Linked DNA regions of Homo sapiens: region 2 is linked to region 1. Evidence: promoter capture Hi-C in 16 types of primary human blood cells and fetal thymus (Javierre and others, 2016). All regions are on one chromosome and are shown on one strand. The core of a region is centred on a gene start or on the middle of the fragment in contact, and the rest is flanking DNA. Distances in the headings are between cores, read along the strand shown.

What was found. The method cuts DNA at HindIII sites, captures the fragments that hold promoters and counts their contacts. A CHiCAGO score of 5 or more calls a contact.
Region 2: a fragment that was not itself captured here is called in contact with the fragment with the promoter of NTNG1 in region 1 in 1 of 17 cell types (naive B cells); the score reaches 5.6 in naive B cells.

What each region holds. Positions count from the first base shown.
Region 1 is chr1:107,137,993-107,145,084 of GRCh38, reverse strand. NTNG1 (netrin G1) reads right to left here and starts at 4,046. Exons shown (of 8, transcript NM_001113226.3): 1 at 3,945-4,046. RefSeq lists silencers at 3,352-3,631, 3,652-3,941 and an enhancer at 3,875-4,406. The HindIII fragment of the contact is 6,022 bases long and covers 2,346-7,092 here.
Region 2 is chr1:107,524,631-107,531,722 of GRCh38, reverse strand. No RefSeq gene overlaps it. Among named protein-coding and RNA genes, the nearest start is that of MIR7852, 370 kb to the left of the region's middle. The HindIII fragment of the contact is 1,614 bases long and covers 2,849-4,462 here.

The sequences.
Region 1 (7,092 bases), core at 2,797-5,296:
AATAACATATTTGGGGACTTAATATACTAAACCTATCCCTTCTGGCCCATAACTGAACTAATTGTGAAGTGACGTGGCCTTTAAATTTGTCTCAGGTGTCCGTATCACCTAAATAAGAACAGATTCATAAGAGCTCTGGGCAGCTCCAGTTCTACCTCTTCACTTTGCAGACCTTGGGAACTCACTGTAATCAAAAATGCTACCACCTCTACTTGGGAACTAAAGTACTGAGAAGTCTCCTTTGATAAAAATACCCATTAATAGGTTGTGAGTACCCCATAGACCTCCGGTGTATAAATTTGCAGAACCAATAATAAAAGGTAAAATTAAGTCATGGCCCTCAAGTTGATAGAGATTATTGATCAGGACTAAAATGGGCTATAAAATGCCTTTGCACACACAAAACATGTATTTGTCCAGGATTCTGCAGCTAATTCCCTTCCACCTTGGATTAATTTTGCAGAAGCCATTTTCACAGGCCCTTTCTTTCACCAGAAAAAAAAAGCCTCCCAAAATATTACATGGAAGTAATAATGGTTAATATTACAGGCAATTATATTCCAAAAGCAATTGCCAGTTTCATCAACTGAGAGGAAGACATTATCAGTAAATCTCCTAATCTAGCTGGTTTTCAGCATTCATTTTATTATATAATCTCACTAGCAGGTGGGAATGGTGGTAGTAAGCTATTTTTTTCATAAATATTCAGCTTTTCAGGGGTACCTGAAATACACAACTATTGACTCATTCCTCATTCACATTAAGAATTTTATAAATATGCATGTTTCTGAATGGGAAGGAACAAAAGGAAAATTGACTATATAGATCATTGAGTGAAAATATAAAAAGATAAAGATATACAAAATTATAACCTATCAAAATTAGCAGCTTCCAACAGTCATAATGAAATTTATTACATAAGATATTTTAACATGTATTCAATGCTCTTTGCAGCTATTTGTTCTGAAGAAAGCATTTTCTAGTCAACTTAATGGAAAACATATGCTTCTATCCTTTTGTTAACTGTCTCTCAAAATATAAGGAATTTAATATGTACTGCAACATCATTGGCATAGCTTACTCACACTTGATTGGGTATTATGAGCAACTGTCTATCATGAGATTCTTAATAAACCCAAATAACACACCGTGGTAATTGAAAGATCTCTATTTTCATTGAGAGAAGACTGATTCAAGAAATTAGATAGCACATGTTTTGCAGGATGATTGAGGATGGGATAATACCCAAAACTATTTCAGAATCAGTTAAGCCTAGAAGAAATCTGGAATTTAATTACCACATGAAAAACAAATATTTAATTCTCATGCAGGGAAGTTCAGAGATCTAAGGTCTCAAACGCATATATGAGAAAATCTACACCTACCTGAAGTTTTGAAACAGAACTTTGGATTCTGCAAATAAAATTATTTTTTAAAGTATGCTAAATCTCATACTAACCTAAGACTTTACTAATATAATCTCCTATACAATATAATTCACACACATATATTTCAATGTTAACATATAATTGGTTTTCAAAGTTGAATCCAATTTTCTTTTTTCCAAGTGACTTGATGCCTTTGTAACTAAAACTCTCCAAATTTTTATGACACTTAGAAATCCTATCAAATAAATGTGTAATGGTTTAACTTTTTAAACAAATTACCTGAATATTTTTCAGAATAATAATGGAAGCAAAAATAGGTATTTGCACCACTTGCAAATATACAAAAGGAAACTGCAAAATACATTTGCCTCCTCCTAAAAAGGCTAACCTGAATCATTTTAACACATATACCCATTGAAAACTGACAAAACAAAAATATTAACAGGAAACCAGCTTTATGTTCAAATAAACTGTTTCCATGCAAAAGTTTTAAGATTATCCGTCTTAAATTCCACAGTAAGGAAATACCACCAAATTAGTAGTGCAGTATATAGAATCCTGAATGCCTTCATGGTGGTCTTCAGTGGGTGAAATATATCTCATTTCACGGCATCCAGAAAAGAAAATATATCCCTGGAACAACATTACATGTGAAATACTTGATGCACATTTTTCCTTGCATGTTGATCCACATGCAGAGATCCAAATTTTATCTTAATGAAAAATCGAAAGTTGCTTATCTTCAAAAAGAATCTTGGACAGTTACTGAGCTGCTTTTCCTTTGCCAAAGAGAAAGGGAGGCGGGTAAGGCATTCAAAGTGACACAGTTCAAAATACTTAATGAAATGTGGAATTGCTAATTCCCTCACTAGAGATCCTCCTCAAGGGACAAACAAAACAGAAAAGCCTCCCCTGAAAAAAAAAAAAATTATTTTTTGGAAAACTTTCCAACAAGCTTAACTACTAAGCATATCTGAATAAGTGATTTTAATGGAAGATCTTCCTGGGTTTTTTTTTTTTTCATTTCTGTAAGATAAAACAACTTTTAGTATTTTCAGTCATAAAACAGGGCCTTATTTCTAGAGCAATTCTACTGCCAGATTCACCATATGTTTAGTGGAGTTCTGAATCTTACTCAGAATTTTCCATTCCAAAGATTGACAATTTGTTATGAGGAGTGGCTCCATTATTCCCTGTATAAAGAGAAGAATGGGTGAGAGAGGAGGACCGTCTACTCACTGGAAATCTGTACCTGATGCAACTATAGGAGCTCAACCTGCGACTTTTCCAAGTAAAGTTGCTTTAAAATCCCCGCTAGGAATTTTCTTCCCTTGCCCTGTAAGATGACAGCCTACTCTTAAGTGGATTTCTGAAGGAAAAAAAAAAAAAGTCCCCGGGTGAGGGTACTAAAATTAACAGCAGAGGGCGCAGTTTCTTTTTATATCTAAGTTTTTCCTTGTATGAATCACTTAATTGGTTATTTTAGGCCCAATAATATTCAGTATTATTTGTATTATATATAGATATCCACAGATCCATACAGGAGTGCAATTCAGTGTCCCTAGCCGAATCCATCAACCGATTAATATGATGCCAGTAAAGAATATGAGAGAATATTCCAAACAGCATCCCTACACCAAGTCTTCCTCTTTCAATTTCCCTTTCTCCCCAGCTGCACAACATGGGATAGTAATGTTTTAATCTAGCACCAATAAAGGCGATTAAAAGAAGGGACTTCAAAAGCTCTCGATGTGGCCACCAGATCCCCAAGGCCGGCAATAGGGCAAGTGTTTTTTTGTTTTTTTTGTTTGCTTTTCCCCAAACAAATATAATTGGCGAAAGAAAGAAAAAATAACGACAAGCCGCCTGAGCGATGTGTGTGGCCAGGTGTGCGTGAGAGAGGGAGAGCGCGGGGCCCCTGTCAGTCGGCGGATGGAGGCTCAGACCCCACGCCTGGGCTCCGGACACAACAAGAGGACGCATCACCGGCCCGGGGCGCACCCCCGGGAAGACTTGTGTGTGGGTGTGAGCGTGTGCCGCTGTGTGTGCGCGTAGGGCTCCGCGCGCTGCCTCCTCGGGGCGCTTTACAAAGTTCCTCGCCCACCCGGAGCCTTCCCTCCCGCCTGTGCATCGCAGCGGGTGGGGCGGGGGGCGGCGGGGGGTGGGGAAACCCGGGGGAGAGGGGCACGGGCGAGAGGCTCGGGTCGCAGTAGGAGAGGCGAGCCGCAGGCACTTACCGTGTGGCTCGTTTGCCCTTGCGCCGGGCGGGAGCCGAGCCGACGGCGCGGGGCGGCGGCCCTGCGCAGCCAGCCTGGTCCGCCTCGGGCGGCGGCCGCAGCAGCGGAGCCCGCGGGCGGCGTACGGGCGGAGGGCGGCAGCTCCCGCGGAGCCTCCTCCCCAGGCGGGAGCGGGCGGAGCGGGAGGGGTGGGCGTGAGGACCCGAGCCGCCGCCACCGCCGCAGCCCGGGGATTCCGATCGCGCCCGGCCGCCGGCGGGAGAGGACCCCGAGGACCGAGAACCCAGCGCCGGCCCGCCACTCCCCGCCGCTTAATTACCTTCGCCTCCGCCCCCGGGGGGAGCCTCCTGCAAGTCGCCCCCTCTCGGAGCCCGCACCCAGAGGGGGAATTCCTTCCCGTTGACGTCCTCTTCCGAAATGCAAAAGATCAGTGACTTTGACAGGTAGATGAGGGGGAGGGAGTAAGGGTGGGCGGAGAGGAAGAGAGGATGAGAAAGGTGCCTCTCCCTCCAAAAATATAGTGATATTAATAATGAGATCTCAGCCTTCGGAGGTCGTGCCAGCCCAGTCCCCTGCTCGCCGGCTCTCCTCCGCGCCTCCTCGCTCCGCTGCCTCTGACACTTCTCGCCTTAAACTTTTACTGAGGGATATTTTTTCTTTTTTCTATTTCTATTTCTTTTTTTTTTCCTCTTTTTTTTTTTTTCAAGCCGCAGGACGATTTTCTGGTTCCCGGGGATCAGAACCAGCGGCCAGGCGGTTCTATGCCGCTTGGCACCGCTTTCATTTTATTTCAGATGAAGACGTTGAGCTTAGTCAGAAGGGGCATAAATCAGGACAATTAGCATTGGCGCCAAGAAGATCCTCTAATACCAATTTCGCCCGGGTTTCCTTCGCGCATTCCTCCACTCAAGTCAGAAATGTCACTGCACATAGCACTGATGGCAGTGAGACGCGACGCACCCAAAGTCCGTTTGATGAAATATACATGGCCCACGACGCTTCTGGATTGCGGCTCCCGGACTCCCCGCCCCCACCAGCGGCTCCCGGCCGGGACCCTGCTCCGAGCGGGCAGCGAGCTCCTGGCAAACTTAGGGGCCAGTGCCAATTAAAGAGTGAGCGCGAGAGCCGGAAAGAGGAGCGGCAAAGAAGCAAGCCCGGGGAAGCCGCAGCCCTCGGAGGGGTGGCATGTACGTTTCACTTAAAAAGCAGATCTTCTTCTGCAACTGCCAGCAAGTGGAAGGATAGCAAACCTTATACTACCTCGAGACCTGTGCGCTCCGAGCGGTCCTAACTCCGTCCCGCTCGCTGTTGCTGTTGCTGGTGCTGCTCCGGCTGCAGCTGCTGCCGCTCCACGACCTCGGGGCGCTGAGGCAACAGGGCCCCCTCCCTCTACTCCCCATCCCCCCCGGCTCCTCCACAGAAGCGCCGTTTCCAGTAACTCCTCGTGTACCTCCCACTTCTGCCGCCGTCCATCCCACCCCTCTCTCTTCTGTCCCCTCCCCAAACCGTTCCCAAGCACACCCTTCGCCGCTGGAAGTGATCACAATGTTGTTTTTCAACAAGCACTTCCTTTGCCCGGAGGCCCCTACAGCCCTAGACTGGAAACTCCTCCTTTAGAAATTCATTCCCCTTTAAAAAGTTGAAGTTCAAGGGAGAGCTGCGCATTTCAGGCTTCCTTGCCTTTTCTAAGAGAAAGACAAATGCTCCGATGCTCCAGGCTTCATTCCCCACCAAGGCGGGCTCAGACTCACCTGGGATCACTCTTAGCTACACATTAACGTCAAACAGAAACAAATCCGAATTTAGATAAGATAGGGAGACTTCCATTAGAAAGAAAGACTATTGCAACAGGGAAAACGCTCTGATCTCAGAAATCTGCAAACCTCTCAAAACCAAACAGAAATCGGCCTTTTTTTTCTATATATATAAGGGGGAGCAAGCAATAGGCAAAGCCAAGTGGATGGGGGAAACAACTCACTTCAAGACCCTCTTGGTTGAACAAGAAATGTGTCTCTGTGGTCCAAGAATTTGGAAGATAAGCTAACAATGGTGAATGTTTCACATTTTAGTTCTTGCTCAGATTTGGGGGGCAAGCTAAATTCCAGGGACCTGCTGGAGAGAAGCCTGACTCATGTTTGGTCAAGGCAAAGTGGCGGGTGGGGGGGGGGTGGAAGAAATGGGCAATTGTGAACACTTAGTCACTATGTGTCCCACAATTAAGGCAGGAGGCTGAGTAATTGGGTCATTTTTCTGTGATGACTGGGGGTGGTGTGGTAAAAGGATGGATGGGGGAGAAGTTTGTTGAGTTGGGCCTATAACCAGGCCCTCCTTGGCCCTGGGCAGCCAGGAAGTGGGCAGGGATTTCAGGCACCCCCAGCCTTCCCTCTAACACCTAAGAGGCCACAATAAGTCGCCTTCGGAATCTCTGAGTGCAGGAATCTGGGATTCATGTGCTTTCCTCTTTCCCACCTTTGTCCTGTAGTGCTGACATTGCAAAAAAGAGTTACCTGCAGGGCTGAAACTCCTACCAAGGGTTCTTAGACAGTGGCCAAGTCTGGCTCTTCCCCCTGTCTCTAGCCATGCTCCTCCAGGTTTAAAACATACTGACTATATGGAGATGTTACTCACCACCTAATCCTCCTTCACAGGCCCTTAGATCCCAGTTCTTTCTATGGGAGCCCTTTGCAATAGGATATAATAAACAATACCAAGAGTGGCCTTCTTATTTCTCGTTGGCCCCTTGGCCTAGATCCTGAAATACAGACAGTTCTCAGCCTTTCCTCTCTCTTGCCCTTCTCTCTCAAGCCAAGAAAGCCTTTCTGAACTCTCATCCTCTGCTTTATCTGGTCATTTAAGGCCCTTCTGTAGTAAAAATAAAATAAATCTATGCAGAGATTAGAGAACTCTCTTCTGGAATATACCAAGATCTTTGTGATTTTGGCTCCCAACCTGGAAAAATACTTGTTTTCATCTGTCAAAATCTTGGAACTGACCTCCCTTCCTCTCTTCCTGTATCATCCCTCATTCCCAGGATTCCTTTGACTATGAGGCAATCCCAAGTAAGTGTGATATGTAAATGGGAACCTCTCCAGTTAGGTAACACCTCCCACTACAGGAGTGGGAGAGTCTTTCAGAGGTGAGTTTTTCTGTGGAACATGTGCTCTGACCTTTGCAGAAGCTCAGTGAATCACCAACTAAACATGTGGATCTAAACTCAAGGAAGTAAATCAGAATCATCAGAGACTTTTCAACATTAAAACCCCTTCCCTTCCAGATCTTGTTCTCTCCTCCAGCAGCAATCAGGTGGTAAGGACTTTTTCTCCAAAAAAGCAGTTTAAGTGGATTTGATATACTTCCCCAAACTAACGTGCATATATTAAACCAGCTTTCCTCAATATACCTTTGCATATTTGTTTATATGATATACACTGATCAGAAATTGACTTTAGAGTTTTCATTGCCTCCAA
Region 2 (7,092 bases), core at 2,406-4,905, 390 kb before region 1:
TCCTAGCTCACTGATAACACCCAGCTGGCTGTCATGGTGGCAAGGCCTCCTGCTTCTCCTTCTCATCTGGTATCACACACTCATGGGCCTGGGGATGCGCAGAGTCATGGGCTTGAAGGGGTGGTATCCTACTGCTGCCCAGTCACAATTACTCATCTCTCAGAAACACCTAGAAATAAACTGATCCTCTTCCTGGTGGACAGAACATGTTCTATTCCCCGTTCATTCAATTCCCAAGGGAAGTGAATGCTCAATTTCTCTGCTGTTTTATCCTGCAGTCATCCAGCTTCTAAGAGTGATTCTGGAGTCGTCTTGCTGGTTATCTCCATCGGATTTCTTCAGTACAACACTAGCCCCCTCCCACCCTTCATTAACATAGATTGGCATCCTTTATAAGACAAGCAGCCCAGGCAGCTGGGTGATCATTTGAGTGACAAGAGAAGTGGATTCTAGTCTAGCTTAGTCACAAACTCGCTATAGGCTCAGAGACAAGTTACAACCTCTCTGGGCTTCAGTAGCTACACCTTTTAAGGTACACGATGTTCTCTGGGGGAGGGATAGCATTAGGAGAAATACCTAATGTAAATGATGAGTTGATGGGTGCAGCAAACCAACACGGCACATGTATACCTATGTATCAAACCTGCACGTTGTACACATGTACCCTAGAACTTAAAGTATAATAATAATAAAAAGAACAGGTAAAAAAATAATAAAAAAAAGATACACGAATCTAGATCTTCTGATTTGGTAATAATCGAAGGGGGGTGGTGGGTAACAGATTCAGGGAAAAAGAGAAACGGGAAAACTATGCTTCGTCAACAAGGCAATAATGGTGAACCAATGTGTGTTTAGAGGCCCTATATGCTTGTGTTCAGAGTATTCCATTGTGTCTTTGCTATCCGAAGCTGCTCAGGGACATAGTCATGAATCAAGACTTCCAGTAAATGCCTCTGGAACGTGGAGGAATGAGAACCTGGCAGGAAGACAGTGCAGGGCATTGTCTGGAGCTCGTTCCTCTTGGTTGCGTGACTGCCCATTATGACTGTCTGATGATGGCAATGTGATCATTTGTCTAGCAATTACAAAGCATCTTCATTTTACTGCCTCTTTTAATGTTCCCAATAACCCTGTGAAGTAAATATTATTCTCCCTACTTTAGAGATGAAAACCCTGAGGTTTAGAAAGGTTAATGACTTGTTATATGATGCTCAGGTACTAAAGAGTAGAGTTGAGATACAAAGCTAAGACTTCTGATTTCACATATAATACAATTTCCATATTTTCAACAGTTGTCAGACTGTGCCCTCAAAGGTGTGGGTTTGGAGGATGTGTCTGGGGTGGTGGCGGGGGTGGGAGAGAAAAGCTAAACCAGTGGCGCTCAGACTCCCTGCTTCAATCAAAGCACCTTTATTGTTCTATTCTATATTTATATAATGCCACCCTAAATTTGGCTTTAAACAAAATGTTTCTAGTGCTAAAAAGTCAAGTTTATGAGACGCAAAATATACCATTGTGGTGTTGAAGATGAAACCTTTTTTCAGTCTCTTTACTCGGAGGATTCTGCGTTCTTTGTTCCAACAATCCCAGCTCGAAATCCTCTCTCTCTCTCTCTCTCAGAGGAGCTGACCACAGATGCTCTTACTTCTCTCAGTCCAGTGAGCCATATTCTGTTTTTTGTGGGCCTTTCACAGGAAAAGTGTTCTGTGGCCAAGGTAGTTGATAACAAGCCAGATGTTCAGCCCAGATAGAGACCCCATTCCTTTCCTTAGAAGAATTGACCCACATGTTCCAACTTGCCTCATAAATATAAAAAGAAAAGCCTAGCTTCCATTTTAATTAGATGAAATAATTACATGTCACACATCTCTTAAGCAGTTTTATACTCGCTCTGACTGTGATGCAGGGATTAGCATTCAAAGACGCTGCTTGCCCTGTGTACAGATGTTGGGTTTATAGACTGTCATGCTCCTTGTGGCCACAAGATGTCAGGCAAATATGGTCATGGGATATAGGTGCAGGAAGGTGCCTTGGCTCCTGAAAATACCATTGACGAGTTCATTAGCTGATTAAAATCCTTCCAATAAGCTTGTTGGAAGAACCTAGGGAAAGTCTATGAAATGTGTCATATTGTTATCCTGTTGATGGAGACGCTGAACACGACTAGGAGGTAATCAGATTAAGATCAACAAATATTGATTGTACATGCTTGCACGATTAAATCCTGAATAATTAAAGGCCACTGAGTTTCCTAGCTCTCATCTTAGTGTGTGTTTCCATAAGCAACATGTGCTGTGTTTCCAAAGTACCATGAATAGACATGGCTATAGGAAAGAAATGGGATCAGTCAGAGAATCAATCACTTTTAAAAGTTTCAGTTTGAAAATCTGATGAAATAAAGAAGTGGGTTTTAAGTTAACAGCTATTCTATAATCATGAGACATTTTATAAACCAAAATATATAAAATAAAGCCATACACTGAAACTTGTGCATACTTCTAATGTAGATTTGTTTACTCCATGATTTGAATGATTTGTTAATTAACAGCTGATCTGACACACCACCCCTCACTATTCTTTTAGTCTCTGGACCGACTTTCTATAGAAGCTTCCTTGGGGTCTGGCAGAAGGAAGCAGTAATGACAAGCAAAGGTTGAGCTCAATCGATCTGTGGTTATTGAGTTCCTACAGAGAGCTGGGTGCTGCTGAGGCTGCAGCAGACCTAGAGGGCATGGCTTATGCCTCACTGTTTCTTCCCTTTCATTTATCTCTTTCTTCTAATTTTCTGTGTTCTACTTCTTAACTCTTCAGATGCTTCTTACTGCTAAGCTAGGTGAGGGGATAAGCTTTTATTTATTTACCTTTGAAAACATGCTGATCTCCTACTATGTGCTAGACTTTGGCCTGGAGATTCAGAGACAAATTTTAAAATGGTGCTTACCTTGCTCATGGATCCGGCAAGCCAAAAATCGTATTACAGCAGTATGGCACTGGCAATGCAATCAAGTAAATGTCCTATGGAGCGCACAGGCAAAGGGGGATTCATTCCGCTTGGTCCTGAGGGCATTGTGGTACTTCACAACAATGTAAATTGGAACTCATCAAGTGAACAGGGATGGGGCAGCCTGAAGAATTAGAATATGTGAAGGCAAGTCTGTTCCAGTAAAAGCTAAGCTGCTGTGAGAAAGAGATCTGCAGTACAGTAACTTGAAAAGATAGATGTCCATTTTCCTCTCATATAATAGTCTAAAGGTAGGCAGTCTGGTGGGGCTGCCCTACTCCATGAGGTCATTCAGGGACCATGGTCCTTCCAACTTGTTGCTCCACCATCCTCTAGGCATTTTTCACACTGCTGGAGCATCAGCTGGCTTGCCATTTCCAGCCGTGTGAAGAATAGGGAGAAGTGGTCCAGGGTAAGTTACTTTATTATAGTAAGGAAGGCAGAAATTGCACACTTCTTTATATTTCATTGACTTTGACATGACCACATCTAGCCTCAAGGGGGGCAGGGAAATATGCTTGTAATAAGGTGGTTCTGTACCCATGAAAAAAACAGGAAAAACAAGTTACGGGGGCAACTAGCATCTCGCCACAGCAGAGGCACGTGGAAGGGAATAGTCTGTTGTGGAACTTGCACGCAGTGGAGTGTAGCTGGATCATGGCTCATGTGACTGGTAAGGTGGGGCCAGGATGTGGAGGAGTTTGAATGCTACATTGCTAAAAAAAATTTTAATGAAGCCAGCATGCTGAGCTTTGTGTTTGAGGGTAAGTCACTCTAGCACCTGAGGGTTGAGGAAGCGTTTGGAATGATTAGACTGAAGGCTGTTGTCGTTTTAGGTCCAGGTGAAAGAAGGTGAAGGCTTCTCTCAGGAAAGGAGAGCCAAGGGTAATGGGGAAAGTAGATTTAAGAGACATTTAAGCCAGAACTAGAACTTAAACTGGCTGGTAAGTTTCTACAGGTCACCTCAATTAAAAACTGTTAATGAACCACACTGACAGTATTTTTATTATTAGCAAAGTCTCTTCAACAGAGAACAGGCTAAATGTTTCTTTGACCCCTGCCCTCAGCTTTTGTCAAATGTGCACATTCTAGAAATTAAGGGAGCACAGTGGGGTCTTTATGGTTTAACAAGTTGGGTCCATGTTCACTTCTCATATATTCTCAAGACAATCTTGTGGGTTCGGAACACAGAATAATATGTCAGTACATTAAGAGTGTCTCTGTCATTTGCCCCTCAGGGATTGGGACACAAACCAAGTTCACAGAGACTGATATATATTAGCTAGATCACCAATTTAGTCATCTGTAATTAGAAAAGCTACTGGCAGACAGACATATGTCAACTTGGCCTGCTCTCTGGGGGGCACTCTACATGGGAAGTCAAATTATCAGAAGATTGCTTGAGGGGTGTGGAACTGAACAAGGGGAATTATACATTTGAATATTAAATGGTGTTAAGCTTCGATAGCTTCATGCATTCATCTCCAAGGTGGGAACGTGGCTGTCAGGAACACTAACTTCTTTGTTTGGACTTACCAGGCATCTTGTCCTAGACAAATCTAAGAAGAAATTTCCAAACTTGGAAACTTCGGCATTTCCATCAGTATAACCACATACTAGGGGGTATTTATAATTAAGCACCACACATGGAGACTCTGATAAGCACCAAGACCCCCCTGCCCCAATGTGAAAACTGTTGGGAGTATGGTTTATTCTGGAGAGGAGCCAGAGGAGATCAAACACTGAGAGATCAAAGACTGACTGGGGCTAGCAAACGTTTTCTCCAAAGGGCTAGAGAGTAAATACTTAGGAAATGTAGACCACATGATTCTGTCATAGCTACAGAACTCCATCATTGTAGCACAGAAACAGGCTTAGACAATATGTAAACAAATGTTCCAATGAAACCTTATTTACAGAAACAGGCAGCAAGCTGGACTTGGCCCACAGGCCATTGTTTGCTGACCCCTTGAGATGCCAGTCCTAGATTATCAGTTCACAAAACCTTTCTCCAAAGAGGATTCAATACTATTGATTTTTTTTCTACTGACTAAATCCTAATTATGTTCAAGTTTGCCATCCCTGGGTTTGCTCCTAGATCACCCTGACTAGAATTTGGGGTGTTTCTAAAGCTATAAGGCACAGATAATCTCTTGGTTTACTCCCACAGATATGTGTCACATCTACTGTTTGACTAGTTGAAGTTTTCAAAGCCCATCTTATTTCTCTCCAAGTTCCAGGGTAGCAACTCACTCTGTATCTATGAATAAAACCCATTTTACAGACGAGCAATCCACCTTAGAGTGACCCAGGTGAGTGTCAGAGCTGAGACTGGATGTCAAGTCATCCACCTGCAGGCCCAGCATTTACTCTACTTGGTCATATTTTCCTGGGTAGATTCTAACTCTGTAGGCTTACAATTTGGACAGGGAGGTAAATTAATTTAGCTCAGTGTAATGACAACAGAGAAATGTGGTAGTATGGGTATGGTAGAAAATGATTAGGGCTTGGGGGCTGTGAAAACAAACAAAACTGAAATGTAAACCTGAGCTCACTGCCTAACATCTATAGCAAACATGGCCTTTCTAGAACAAAGAAAAGAGGTGATTTAGTCATTGAAGCTAAAGGGGTTTTATATGACTGTGTGTTTGGATTTAATCTCTATACTTCATTAAGGATGCGGTGGTGAACAATGTCTGCTTCCCATCGTACTGATGAAGGGCAATGAGACCAGAAATATCCTTCAGTCATCTGTGAGTGGCTTTGGGTGTTGCCAGGCTTGGCAGATGGAATTCAGAAAAATGTTGATTTATGTGTCCCTCATTGTTACAGCAGTGGTATTATAAATTGGATGTCCTTATTCTGACTGGTGGCACTCCTATGGTACCCTTCTTGACCCTAAGCCCCACCCCCTGTAGAAATCAACTGCTCCCTCTTCTCTGTAAGTCTGGCTCCAATAAGGCCTACAACACTTTAGGGATTTGTCCTTTTACAGGTCTCTTCCTCTCTTTCCTTTGAAGGCAACAATTAGGTTGAGTCCACCTAGCATAGGGTCTGGCCCTGAATAGTCATTCTATAAATATTTGATGAGAGAAAGAGAGCTTCCCCATGCAACTTACCCCAACTTCCATCTGTGTATACACTCTCTGAATAATAAGCGTATGGAAAGACTCACCTTTTCTTTCCTTTCTCACAGTTAGTTCTATTCCCCTTTGCATTGGGTCTCACCAAGTGCCAGGCAGTGTTTTTAGTGCTTTGTGGGCCTTAGCTCCCTCAATCCTCTTGACACTACTCTACACCTTACTGTATGTCAGCTCAAGAATTTGGCAGTTTGGGTTGAGATTCTGAATTCTCTGCTACTCCATTGCGCAACTTCCTGTGTGACTCTAAATGTCTTACCTTCCTACTCTATGAAATCATCAGAGAAATGATAGCACTCAACTCACAGGTCTCATGAACTTTAAATGAGATAATGCTTGTTAAGTGATTAGCACAGTTCCTGGTACATAGAGCTCTATCTATTTTAGCCCTTCACAAAGGAGAGTCTGTTGTCTTTCAGATGTTTTATACTAAAGAATGTAATTACCTACTCAGCACCCACTTCTCTCAGTAGAGCCAGGAATGCACCCCATAGACTTGTGCTAGGAAGAGCCACAACTACATGGAAATGACTGTGGGAGACAGAGAAAAGGAAAAAAGAGGAAGGAAGAATGGCAGGGCCTCTCTCTGATCCCAAGGAGAACAATAAATATACTATTTGCAGCATTCTCTGGACCTCAAGCATGTTTGTGATTGGCTGAGAGTCAGATTGGATTCTCTCTGGTAGTGGATTGCGTGGCTTTCCAGACATCGCATAACATAATGGCAAGATTACAAATGTCTTACTTGGGTGGTTAAGCAGTTGATCAATAATTATTTATTTCATACCTAACAAATCACTGTCCTGAAAGAATATGTCCCCTCCCTTAAAAGTGGTCACACATAAGCTTTTGTTATAACGTTAACAAGAGTGGACTGGGAAGTGGTCCCTGTGCACATGAGGAAGGAACGGTTTCCTGCCAGAGCGACTCCAGGGTGCAGTTCATGGGCCT